2 separate regions of the Homo sapiens genome follow, and region 1 is linked to region 2. Evidence: promoter capture Hi-C in 16 types of primary human blood cells and fetal thymus (Javierre and others, 2016). All regions are on one chromosome and are shown on one strand. Each heading gives the region's core, a stretch centred on a gene start or on the middle of the fragment in contact. The rest is flanking DNA. Distances are from core to core; before and after follow the strand shown. Region 1 overlaps DIP2A (disco interacting protein 2 homolog A). Region 2 holds the start of PRMT2 (protein arginine methyltransferase 2).

What was found. Contacts are between HindIII fragments. The CHiCAGO score rates a contact against its expected background, and 5 or more counts as called.
Region 1: a fragment that was not itself captured here is called in contact with the fragment with the promoter of PRMT2 in region 2 in 7 of 17 cell types (naive CD4 T cells, total CD8 T cells, naive CD8 T cells and 4 more); the score reaches 15.8 in naive CD4 T cells.

Annotation. Positions count from the first base shown.
Region 1 is chr21:46,526,797-46,533,392 of GRCh38, reverse strand. DIP2A (disco interacting protein 2 homolog A) reads right to left here. Exons shown (of 38, transcript NM_015151.4): 9 at 4,210-4,301; 10 at 1,156-1,266. Among named protein-coding and RNA genes, the nearest start is that of DIP2A-IT1, 68 kb to the right of the region's middle. The HindIII fragment of the contact is 8,719 bases long and covers 1-6,465 here.
Region 2 is chr21:46,630,286-46,637,083 of GRCh38, reverse strand. PRMT2 (protein arginine methyltransferase 2) reads right to left here and starts at 1,410. Exons shown (of 12, transcript NM_206962.4): 1 at 1,321-1,410; 2 at 537-645; 3 at 94-188. The coding sequence starts at 132. RefSeq lists silencers at 992-1,541, 1,652-1,871 and an enhancer at 1,642-2,312. The HindIII fragment of the contact is 1,501 bases long and covers 728-2,228 here.

The DNA.
Region 1 (6,596 bases), core at 857-3,356, 100 kb after region 2:
GTCCCATTATTGATATATATGATCTTTTCACGGAAATAGTTCATGAAAATGTGACAACTATGTTTAAATTTAAAAGATAATTTTGGTTTGTATTTGTGTTGAAATATAAAGTTTAATGGGCTAATTTCTCAAAGTTTATTCTTACAAATGACATTTAGAAGCATTTTTAATAAACTCCAAAGTTAATGGCATTGAAATTTCTATTGAATCATGTTTGAAATTTACAAATTAATCTAGAGAGGCCTGGTCACCAACGATATTAAATTATTTCCACACAGAAACACATTTCCTTGTAGCCAAGTCTTCTGTGTCCCTCAGCAGTATTCTGTCATTTTCTTCATATAAATTTGACAAATCTCTAGTTTTACTCCTAAGAACCACTGCATTCAAATACCTGCCCATCACATATTATGCTTTGAGATACACTAGTTTGATTTGCAAATTTTACTTTTGGGATTCTTGAATATTTCTGGATAATGCTCCTGTTAACAACTGCCTGAATTCTGGGACAGGATGACAGAAAACTGATTTTCTCAAATTCATGCCTTGTCTATTTTTTTTCAGTAATCATATTATTGATAGTTATATCAAAAATGTTACAGATACCTAGATCAGCAAGACCCCACATTAATAATTTATCAGCAACAGAAACTGCCTACGGTCATATAAGTGAACAGAAATGCAAGATAATTTCCATCTCGTTTATTCAAAACTGCCACTGAGAAGTGAGCTATATCACTGTAATGATATATTTATCCCTAAGAAATAATAATTATTTTCTATAAACATATGGTTTTGAGGAAAAGTTGAACAAAATCTTATTGAATCATAATTCTATTCATTAGAGGAAAAAATGGCTATCATTTCTGTTGGGAAATTCATGTAGATGATAGAACAGCTCCACCTAATAAGAGTGTGGTGTGGGAGCATCACCAGCAAAACGGTTCTCAGTGCCCCTCTCATTAACAAGAAGAGAGGCAGGCAAAACGGCATCTGATTTCTCTTGAGTCCTGGCCAGCCTGTTGACTACTAGCTTTCTCTCCTCTGTCAAAACAGCTGCTTGCTGCCTGCCCACATGAGTGAAAAGGAAGTAAGATACTGCTGGTATCAAGTTCAGAAGCGAACCACACGGGACCTGAGCCATGGGTTTGCTACCTTTCTTGTTAATGGCACTTCTATGGGGACAGGAACCAGCTCTGCCAGGAGACACCCATAAAATGCAACCATGAACATCACAGGGTCACTATTCGGAAACACGAGCGCCACCTACAACAGGACAAAGAAATGAATATTCCAAATTTCCAATTTTTACAATATCTAGTTAAATTAAAAGCTAGTTATAAATAAAATTTTTGTAAGCCCCAAATATTGTAATAATTGTGCTTGAAACCATAAGGGACAAGTCCAAATAGTATTTAACTGAGTAGAGACAGTTGACTCAGGGCCTTTGAGAACACGCAACAATGAATAACCAATAAGTGCTGACTTTGTAAGACAAAATTTAAGCTGTATCTATATTCTGTACTTGAGGTCTGGAAATTTAGTTTCTAACAAGTTTGTTTGTTGAAAAGGGCAAGGTTCTCCTTCAAAATTTGGTTTTAACAGTGGTTGCCCAGAATGTAACCTATAACCTTCAGACTAGATGTTTGGTATGGAAAGTATATTTTTACAGAATTTGTTAGGAAGAGCTGTGCTCACTTTTATAAAGTGTAATATTATAGGAGGCAGAATTTGCCACCAATTTCTTCAACTCAATCACTGTGACCTTGTCCATTTTATTATGATTCACCTAACCAAAGAGATTCTCTTGCAAGTCAAGAATCTGAAAGTCTTTATCCTTGTAAGAATGTTTTTCAAGAAAATTAGTGATTCTTGAATTCATTCTAAAGCGTTGCATAAAATCTCATCTATGAGCACAACATATCATAAAGTATTATTCTTAAACTGTTTACATTTTTATAGCCAAGTACACATTTCCTTTCTTTTCTGATAACAGCTACCTCCATTTCTACTTGCGTTGCTTTCTGTGTATTCTCTAGCTAATTTGTTTTAAAATACTCCCTCAGCTGGGTCAAATACCCACCTACTGGTGGGTCATTTTCCAAATAACCACCCACTCAGGAGAGCCGTGAGTGTCCCCTGCTGCTGAGGACTCCACTGCTGAGGGTCTCGGTTCTCCTGATGGTGGGTGCTGAGGATTCCACCCCACCCTGGAGTCTTGGTTCTCCTGATGGTGGCTCTGCTGCCCCCCCTGGACTGCTGCCAGTGATCGTCCTGGGGCCTCCACTGTGGTCCTCCTGCTTGCACCCTACTCACTCACTCACTCATGTGGCTGAGGGACATCTTCTAAGAACTTGACAAGAAAGTGCTTGCGAGCCAAACGTTTCTGAGTCCTGCATGTCTGAAAATGGCTATACTATTCTCAAATCTGTTGAATCTCTGGGAACAGAATTTTAAGTTAAAATTATATTCCCTCTGAATGTCTGAAGCATCATTCCACTCTCTTTCAGTTTTACCAATGAGAAATCCCAAAAGCCACTGTCATTGCCAATCCTTTGTGTACATCCTACTTTTCCCCTGAAAGCTCTGGGATTCTTTTCTGTACCCCTCGTATTATGCAATATTATGGGCATGCGTTTTGGTGTGCATCCTTGAATGTTTACACTCTCCAGGTCCGGGATATTGTCCTGAATTACTATTTTCATTTAAAATGTTCTACTTTCTGTTCTCCTTTCTCTTTCTCGACTCCAGTTATCAGTCAGGTGTTGTGTCTTCTTGATCGAGTCTTTTTGTCCTATTTTACTCCGCTCTCCATCTCTTAGTCTTTCCTACCGGCATCCTTTTCTTGACTTATGAAACATCTTCATCTCTGATTTCCAAGAATATTAATACTCACTTTTTAGAAACATTGTTTTCTGTATCTAGCTTTCCTTGTTGTTTCCTCTTTCCTCCCTTCCTTACTTTTCTTGTCTCTTTCTCACTCCCTCTCTTCCCTTCCCTTTTCTTTGTCTTTTGGTATTTTCTCTCATATTGACATTTCCTTCTTAAAAGTCCTTGGCTAATAGTTCATATTAAAGACTTAGGCACTGAAAGAGCTACTTGGAACTGTCTGCCAGCTTGTTAACCTGCAGTTTCCTTGTTGGGTGATCTGACACAGGTGACCTTCTCACTAGGGGATTTCACTGGTATGTTGATTTTCACCATGTTCTCCTATTTTCCACCCTGGACTTTCTAGTATACCAGGGTCCTCCGGTCTGGTCCAGCTTGCCTACAGTAGTACTGTCCAACAGAAGTTTCTATGATGACAGAAATGTTCTACCTCTGATCTATAAATACAGTAGCTACTAGCCACACTCCTACTGAGCCCTTGAAATGTGGCTTGTGCAACCAAGAAACTAAATTTTTTATTTTATTTAATTTTGGTTAATTTAAATAGCCCCAAATGGCTACTGCCAACCATATAGGGCAGTGTAGCACAAGAGAATAAGTCTCCAGCATCCTATTTTGGCAGATAGGTACAAGGAGGTTACCTGGACACATAGAATAGGGAAGGAGATAAAAATACAGAATTTCACAGCAGGGTTTCAGACCTTCAGATTTTAATTCATAAAATCTAAGCTCTGGAATCTAACATTTTTAATATCAACATATATGAAGTCAAACAGAAAAGAAGATGAAGAAACAGTGGACAAACAATGAAACAACGAGTGCAGAAAAAGAATGCTGCTTTACTCTACATCACAAACTTTGCCATATTTAATATTTTTCACTGCTTTTTTTTTTTTTTCTCTTTGAGACGGAGTCTCACTCTGTCGCCAGGCTGGAGTGCAGTGGCGAGATCTTGGCTCACTACAACCTCCACCTCCTGGGTTCAAGAGATTCTCATGCCTCAGCCTCCCGGGTAGCTGGCATTACAGGCACGCACCACCACGCCCAGCTAATTTTTTGTATTTTTAGTAGAGACAGGGTTTTGCCATGTTGCCCAGGCTGGTCTCAAACTCCTGAGCTCAGGCAATCCGCTCACCACAGCCTCCCAAAGTGCTAGGATTACAGGCATGAGCCACCGCACCCAGTCCTCACTGCTGATTTTAAATCCCTTGTATTAATGCTGTAATTCTAACTAAATGATAGAACACTAATTTCAATGAAACAGATTATTTAAGTCCCTGCTTTTGCTCCTTCCAACAAAGTGACATTCTAGTTACTTACTCTGTCTCCAGGTTTAAGTAGAGGTTCATTCTTACTTGTCAGTTTATTAAGTAGAGTATAAGCTAGTTTTAAACTCCGACTCCAAAGTTTACCTAAAACAAAATAAAAATACTAAGCAATGTAAAATTTAAGAAACAAGTAATTAACATTTTAATGTAGAAACCAAAATACCCCGAAATATACCATTACCCCATTAGTGGAAATTTAGGTAGTTTCCAACTAATAACTATTCTGCACAATGTTGTAATGAACATCATTGTTTTCTCTTAAAAATAGCTTACAGATTTATTTTTCTTAATACAAAAATAAAATAGGATTTTATTACAGAAAATCTGGACTACAGAAGAGCCAGCAGAGGCAGGTTGCAGTGACTCACACCTGTAATCCCTGTACTTTGGAAGGACGAGGCAGGCAGATCACTTGAGGCCAGGAGTTTGAGACCAGCCTGGCCAACATGGCAAAACCCCATCTCTGCTAAAAATACAAAAAATTAGCTCAGTGTGGTGGTGTGTGCCTGTAATCCCAGCTGCTCGGGAGGCTGAAGCATGAGAATTGCTTGAACCTGGAAGGTGGAGGTTGCAGTGAGAGCCAGCCTGGGCAATAAAGACATTATCTAAAAAAAAAAAAAAAAAAAAAAAAAAAAAAAAAAAAAAAAAGCAAGCAGAAAAAGTCAGTATTTGGTATACATATGTATATGTACATATGTGTGCATATATATACAGCTATACACATATAAACACGTATACATGCCTGTAAAATTTTCAAGAAATGAGATACTTCACCCTACTTTTTAAATTAATATTGCATTGTAAATGGATTTTCATTACGTTAAATATCCCTCAATTACATCATTTGTAAGAGTAGCACATAATTTCTTTAATCTTTACAACAATTCATGAAATGGGTCATATCTTTGTTTTAACATGTTAAATTCCTAATTTAATATGTTAAATTTAAGATGTTAAAATACCAGCCATCCCCAAAGAGAAGTTCCCCTGACCAAAAATCAAGAGACAATATAAACCAAAGCAACAGATCCAAAGGTGATCCGGGTATCAATGCCATCCATTCTTTACTTGGAAAGCCATCAGGACCTCACGCCAGGCACAGGGCCCAGGAACCAGCTCTTATCCCCTGAGGTCCTTCCCACCACACACCCCTCCTGGCGCAGCTGCTATGCTCATAAGCACTCAATAGGGGAGAGCTTCACTGAGGAAGACAGGACAATAGAGAAAGGAAAAGCCTAGAGGACTGGGGGTGTCTAGAGAGGACGACAGAGGCAGGGGTGACCATGGGACAGGAAGACTGAGAAATCTGAGTCTAACCCCCCACACTTGAAGGAGCCTTAACACCCCCTCACCAAGCAGCCTATCAAAGAAGCAACACAAAGTCATCACTGAGCCCTTTAAGTCCCTGTGGCACAACGCAAGCAGGTTGAGTAGCCATGCCCTGCAAATGAGCGCTCAATTTCCCGTGTAATAATATGAAGCTCAGGTGCAACACTATGAAATAAGTGAACTGTGGGACCTGAGAAATGAATGAGAAAAAAAAAATACTAGACTGGGCACGGTGACTCATGCCTGTAATTCCAGCACTTTGGGAGGCCAAGATGGGTGGATCATCTGAGGTCAGGAGTTCGAGACCAGACTGGTCAACACGGTGAAACCCTGTCTCTACTAAAAATACAAAAAATTATCTGGGAGTGGTGGCACACACTGTAATCCCAACTACTCAGGAGGCCGAGGCAGGAGAACTGCTTGAACCCAGGAGGCAGAGGTTGCAGTGAGACGAGACTGTGCCACTGTCCTCTAGCCTGGGCGAGAGTGAGACTCCCTCTCAAAAAAAAAAAAAAAAAAAACCTCAACTCAAACCACTGTTTTAGCCTATTTTAAAAGGTCAGTTTAAGGTGTTAATAATTGTAATGCATAAAGAATTTCAAACTGAATCCAGCTACATAAAAAGAATAATGCATCATGACCAAGTCAGTTTTATCTCAGGAATGCAAAGAGGTTCAACAGAAAACCCACATAATTTGCCACATTAACAAAATAAAGGTGAAAAATAAAACAATCATATCAATAGATGGAAGAAAAGAAAAACAGTTTAAATCATTCATGATTTTAAAATGATTTTAAATGATTTTTGAAATTCTTCTTAAACTCAGAATAAAAGGAAACATACTTCCTTAATGTGATAAGGGGCATCTTTAGAAACCCAACAGGAAATATCATAATTAATGGTTGGATATTGAAAGCTTCCCCTCTGAGAGAAGTAAGTAAAGGATGTCTGTTTTCAGCATTTTACTGAAAGGCTTAGCCAGTGCAAAAAGGGAGAAAAAGCTGAACAACTGGAAATATAACTACCATTATTTGCAGATGACACGATGG
Region 2 (6,798 bases), core at 161-2,660:
CCAAGCTCCATCACATCTGTGAGCTGACGCTTAGCTCTCTGTAATGCTCACATTCATTAAACACAGATTTTTAGGAAGTGGAACGGAAATTACCTGCGATTCACTTCTGGGACAGTCACCTGATGTTGCCATAGTTCTCTTAGGCTCTGCCTCATAACTGCTGATTTATTTCATTTTCTTTTCCATTTCTACTTTTAAAAAGAGAAGGAGACACAAAGTACTTGTTACATTGCTTAATAATTGAGTTCACTTAACTTCTAATGTGCATGATGTCCTCTACCAAATAGAAGTAAAATGTGTATGTGTGAAGATTAGTGTAGAAATGAAAATTTACAATACTTTACAGAGACAAAAGCATTTAAAAATCATAAACTTCAAATAGTGTGTTTTCTTCACTAGTCTGCAAGGTGTTAATCTTGTTCATTTGCTGAAGCCTGTTAGTTTCTGTTAGATCAGGTGTCGACTTAAGGCAATAAATCAGTATTCATTAATTTCTTAGAAGTGTGATAGCTTTAATTCCAATTAAAAGTCCCTACCTGGGACCTTACAGTGTTTCCACTAACAGGAACCAAGGTCTGCATCTTCCAGTCTTTTCCTTCTTCTCAATTCGTATTTTTCCAGTGATAGTGTAATCCACACACTGCTCTGGGATCAATGTGTTTTTAAAATTGCATAGCAATTCTTTGTTTAAAATGCATGCTTCACTTCTAAATCCAGACTTGAAGCTTATTTTTGTGATATTCGTAGTTACAAATGCTTACTGATTTGCATAATTATATTTTCATTGGAAGACCTGGGTCCAAACTGGGACGGGGTCGGAGTGGAGGCCGCAGTGCGCGCAGGACCCTGCCCTCCTAAGATGCCCTCGGGAGGAACAGGATCATGGAGGGTTGGAACAGGTGGCCAGTGAAGGGGGGTGAGAAGGGGGCAGGAAGCGAGAGGGCCACGCGTGGACGCAGGGGCACGAGAGGGTCAGGCTGGGACAGCGCCGCGAGCTTCGGGGCAGGGGCCGCCAGGCAGGTGGGCGTGGCCGCGAAGGGCGTGACAGAGATGGTGGTGGGGTGGGCGTGGCCGTAGAAGGCGCTGGACGGCGGGAGTGGCCGGGAAGGGGTGCGGCACGCAGGGAAGGGTGTGACGGGGACCGAGCTCCCGTTTGGACGCCAGGGAAAGTGGCTGAGATCGCGAAGGCGCTCGGAGGTCCCAAAAGGGGGCGGAGGCCTCTGTCCGCCAGCGACGCACACGCAGTGCGAGGACGCCTCACCTGGCCTGTCCTTCCTTACGTGCAGTCCAGCCATCTGAGCTGCCCATCAGGACACCTACCTCAATCGCGTTTCTCCGCTGAGTTCCGCGTCCACACCGCCAGCGCGGAGGGGTGGACGGTCCTTTCCAGGAGCCTGAGCCACCGCCCTCAACCCGCGCAAGCGCAGTGCACGCAGGCCGTCAGCCGGGAAGGCCCCGCCCAGGGCCCGGCGCCCCGCGCAGGCGCAGTCCTAAGACGTCCCCCATTCCAGGGAAGCCAAGCCACCGCCCTCGACTTGCGCCGGCGCGTCGCTCACAGATCGTCTGCAGCTGGGGCTGCGCCCCGCGCAGGCGCACTTCACATCTGCGCGTCCCGCGGTCTTGCGAGGCGAGGCCAGGTTCTCCATGTGTGGAGCTCGTCCCCAATCGCCCAGCCCAGCCGCGGGGTTGGGGGGCTCGGCTTGGGGTCCGACCCAGAGGGGCGCGGGGCAGGAGTCCGACCTGGGGCGGGGGGCGGGTTTGGGCCATTCACGGCTTGGGAAGCGACAACCCCTACGAGCCACAAAATGGCTGGGGCTTGGGGGACCCCCCACCTCCTCTGTCTTCCCGCAAATAATTCAGTTAACTTTCCCATCCGCGCTGCGCAGTGTGCGCCCTCTGCCTTTCTTCTGGATAAGTGGAAGCAGAATGATGACGTTTCTGTTGTGGGGAGAGGAAGTTTGGGGTTAAGGAGAAATGGGTGGCGCTAATGCCTGTAAAACATAAAATTCGAAGCCCCCCCTCCCCCGCAGCCGTCTGACTGGACTCCCTCCTTTACCAGGGGACCCTGAAGTTCAACCTGAGAGACTATTCTGGCCTCGAAGGGAAGTAAGAGTTGGACATGCCTTTTTACACTCCTCCAGCATTAACATCAAGGCAGACCTTAAGTCTGATTTAAAAAAAAAAATGTGGAAGGAAAATAAATTTGGGGGCCGCAAAATCATTAAGCTTAAAAGGAAAAGTCAAGTTGGGAACTGCTTAGGGCAAACCTGCCTCCCATTCTGTTCAAAGTCATCTCTCAGCTCACTGAGATAAATGCGTATCTGATTGCCACCTCTGGAGAGGCTAACCAGAAACTCAAGGGAATGCAATGATTTGTCTCATATTTACCTATGACCTGGAAGCTCCCTCCTGCCTTTGCTTTGAGTTGTCCCGCCCTTCCGGACCAAACCAATGTTCATCTTACATATATTGATTGATGTCTCATGTCTCCCTAAAACGTATAAAACCAAACTGTGCTCTGACCACCTTGGGCACATGTCATCAGGGCCTCCGACGGCCGTGTCATGGGCGTGCATCCTTAAATTCAGCAAAATAAACTTCCTAAGTTGACTGAGATCTGACTCAGATATTCAAGGTTCACATTTTGGTAACCACAAAGGGATTCTGAGTAGAGGTGCCACTGACCTTTGACAAATCTGTCAGTCCTTAGTACCAGCTTGAGCTATCTTTATGGCTCAAACCAATAGGACAATTTGCTGAGGCCTGGAAGCACCCCCTCCAGAGAATCCCTGATCTACCCAGATTTAGTCAAGATCTAGTTTATTTTGCTGTACAACTCCTTTTGTGTGTTGGGCGGGGGTTGGGGGGCGGGGTGTGCTTTACTCTCTTCCAACATAAGGAAGTAGTAGTTTTTTCCTGCTTCCATGACAATGGAAGGCAGGTAACTCGTTTATGGAGTTTGAGCTCGCTTCCCACAGGAAAGATGAGGGGTTTTCTTCCTCTGCTTCTAGGGTGGTAGAGAGCAATCTTCAGCCTCAGACCCATCCCTAGGAAGTAACTGAATTGGGGTTTGTCTTGGCTATTAAGATTAACAACCAGCTGGTCTTAATTTCTCCTTACCATTAGTGTGCTCAGTAACCTTATAAATTGCCCAATCCTTCGTTTCGCTTAACTGGTTTTTTTGTTGTTGTTTCTGTTTTTTGTTCTTTTGTCTTTTTCGCATTGAGTTTGACGAACTCTATCTGACTTGATCGAAACCAAAGGAAAGTTCCAAATTATGAGAAGTGAGGCCTCTGAAGTGGCTAAGTTTCAACCCCTCCCCACCACACACACACACACAAAAGGTGATGTGGTGGGGGGAGAAAAACAGCTAGCAAAAGGAAAAAGAAAAAAAAAATTTATTTTGACTACTTAAAGGGCTTTTCTTACATAACAAGGCCACATTTTTGCTAGCCAGACCAACCAAAAAGAGTAATGTCTGTCACCCCACACTGCAGTTCCATACCTAAGGGTTCTGCCTTCTTTTTTTCCACCACCACAGCCTGGGTTTAGTTCCTAAATTAAGCCCTTTCTGGTTTGATACTTGGTACTTCTGAAATAGCAGCAATTAGTCCTAGCTGAAATATGATAATGAGATTTATTTATTTATTTAGACAGAGTCTGGCTCTGTGTTCCAGGCTGGGGTGCAGTGGCACAATCTCAGCTCACTGCAACCTCCACCTCCCAGGTTCAAGTGATTCCCATGCCTTAGCCTCCTGAGTAGCTGGCATTATAGGCCTGCACCACCACACCCAGCTCATTTTTGTATTTTTTTGGTAGAGATGGGGTTTCACCATGTTGGCCAGGCTGGTCTCAAACTGGCCTCAAGTGATCCGCCTACCTCGGCCTCCCAAAGTGTTGGGATTACAGGCATGAGCCACCATGCCCAGCCAGTAATGAGATTGAAAAAGTTTATTTTTAAGGAGCTCAATGGTTAAAAGCTTAATTAAAAGCTAACATCCAACATATGTGTGTTGTGTGCCTGTGTGTGTGTGTTTGTATTTAAAAGGCTTCCAGTTTTGTTTTTTTTGTTTTTTTCTCTCCTAGGACCTTGTCTTTTTGAGCAAAAGTTTTTTTCTTCTTAGTTGACTGGCTTCTGTTTTCTTCATTTACTTTTGTCGTGTCTTCTTTCTCTTGCACCCTCTGCTTCATGGGAAACCTAATATAGTTTGTAATACCCAGGGTTCCTTACAGAAAACGGAGAAGGTGCCAGATTCCCCTTGGAGGAGAAACCTCTGTTTCCTTATGGAACCCCAAATGTGTAAACAGACAAGTTCATCTCAGCTTTTTTTTTTTTTCATCTCAGCTCTTAAACTGCTTGCTTTTGTATTGTGTTACCTAATTTTTTTACTAAAATAGTTACTGCAACAGAGGCTACTCTGGAGTTCTTAAGGAATAGTATAGTTTAGACATGTAGAAATGTCTTTGTTGAAAAAAGTTTTTTAAGTGCACTGTAAAAGCATGATGTAGTCTAACCTCATAATAATTTTCGCTTTTTGGAGACCCAGGATTCAGTGTAGGGTCTGCCCAGAGCTCAGAGATCCAGTTAAAATATAGGGAGTCTCTGTCTAAATAAAACTGGTCTCCTTATACAATCCTATGATAGATTTTCATAATTTTATGTTTGATTTCACATCCATTTTTAATCTCTCTTTAGCACCACCAGACTTTTTCCTCTCTGTACCTTAAAATGTAAATTTTGCTATCTAATTTTTCATCTAATAGTTTCCTTTAATATGCAGATTTAGGGCTATTTAGCCGGCAACTGCCAGGGCAATGACACAGATGATCAAGAGTTTGCAAGTCTAAGATAGAAAAAAAAAAAGAGGTCTTAGGAATCTATAAGATGTACTTCTATCGGTATACCTAATACATCTATGTATTTATGTGTTGCGTACACAATGTTTCTCTATTAAAAAATATAGAAGAGCTATAATTAATTGGCTTAAAGAAAAATAAAAGTGCTCAAATAAATTATTTATTTATTAATTAAAGAAAAATAAAAGTGCTCAAATAAAATACTTTATTAGAAAAAGGGAAAGACTAGTCAAATGTTAAGTTTACTTAAAATCTTTAATAAATAAGTTAGCTTTAAAAATAGTGGCAAAGTAATTTAGAAATGTCTTAAGAATTGCCAGCATACATTTTTGTTTGCATTTATTTATCAAGCAATTTCCTACTTATCCCTGCCAATTACTATAAGGTGTCAACATTTGGCATAGGGGTTACAAAACTATAAACCCAGCCCCAAATGGAAGAACATAAATGGCCTGATGGAGCTGAAAAACACAGCACGAGAACTTCATGAAGCATACACAAATATCAATAGCCAAATCAATCAGGTAAAAGAAAGGATATCAGAGACTGAAGATCAACTTAATGAAATAAAGTGTGAAGATAAGATTAGAGAAAAAATAATGAAGAGAAATGAACCCTTCTCAAAAGAAGACATTAATGCGGCCAATAAACGTGAAAAAAAACTCTTCATCACTGGTCATTACAGAAATGCAAATCAAAACCACAATGAGATATCATCTCACACCAGTTAGAAAGGTGATCATTAGAAAGTCAGGAAACAACAGATGCTGGAGAGGATGTGGAGAAATAGGAACGCTTTTACGCTGTTAGTGGGAGTGTAAATTAGTTCAACCATTGTGGAAGACAGTGTGGCGATTCCTCAATGATCTAGAACCAGAAATACCATTTGACCCAGCAATCCCATCACTGGGTATATGCCCAAAGGAATATAAATCATTCTACTATGAAGACACATGCACACACGTATGTTTATTGCAGCACTGTTCACAATAGCAAAGACTTGGAACCAACACAAATGCCCATCAGTGATGGACTGGATAAAGAAAATGTGGCACATATACACCATGGAATACTATGCAGCCATAAAAAGGATGAGTTCATGTCCTTTGCAGGGACATGGATGAAACTGGAAACCATCATTCTCAGCAACTAACACAAGAACAGAAAACCAAACACCACATGTTCTCACTCATAAGTGGGAGCTGAACAATTAGAACATGTGGACACAGGGAGGGGAACATCTCACACCAGGACCTGTCAGCGGGTGGGGGGCTAGGGGAGGGATAGTACTAGGAGAAATACCTAATGTAGATGATGGGTTGATGGGTGCAGCAAACCACCATGGCACGTGTATATGTAACAAACCTGCACATTCTGCACATGTATCCCAGAACTTACAGTATAATGATAAAAAAAAAAGAGAAAAATCTGCTGATGTATAATTCTAAGCCTAAGAAGAATAGCCATTACAAAGGAAGTCAAAATAAATTCATTTTCAGATAAACAGAATCTGACTGAAGCAAACATGCACTAAAATGCTAAAAGAAGAACTTCAGGCTAAAATAAGATAATCTCATAACTGCAGGAAGGACAGAAGAGTACTAGAAAGTGTAAATAAATGGATAAATGTATTTTTAACATTTGTCCTTAAATCAACAATAATTGTGACTTGTGAGGTTTATAATGTGTAGAGGTGGAATATATGCCAACAGCCGCACACAGAGCAAGGGGGATAAATAAACAATTGTAACGTGCTGGATCTTTGTTAGGACAAAGCAAAAGTATCCTAATAACTTCAGGCAGGTCAAGAGTGCATAATGAGATCTCAAAAAATACAATGATGTATGACAACAAGCAAAATAGAAGATAAAAGAAAAATAATAAATTTTAAAAATGGAAAAGAAAACAGTAAGAGAGTACTACAGAAATAAAAAACAGACA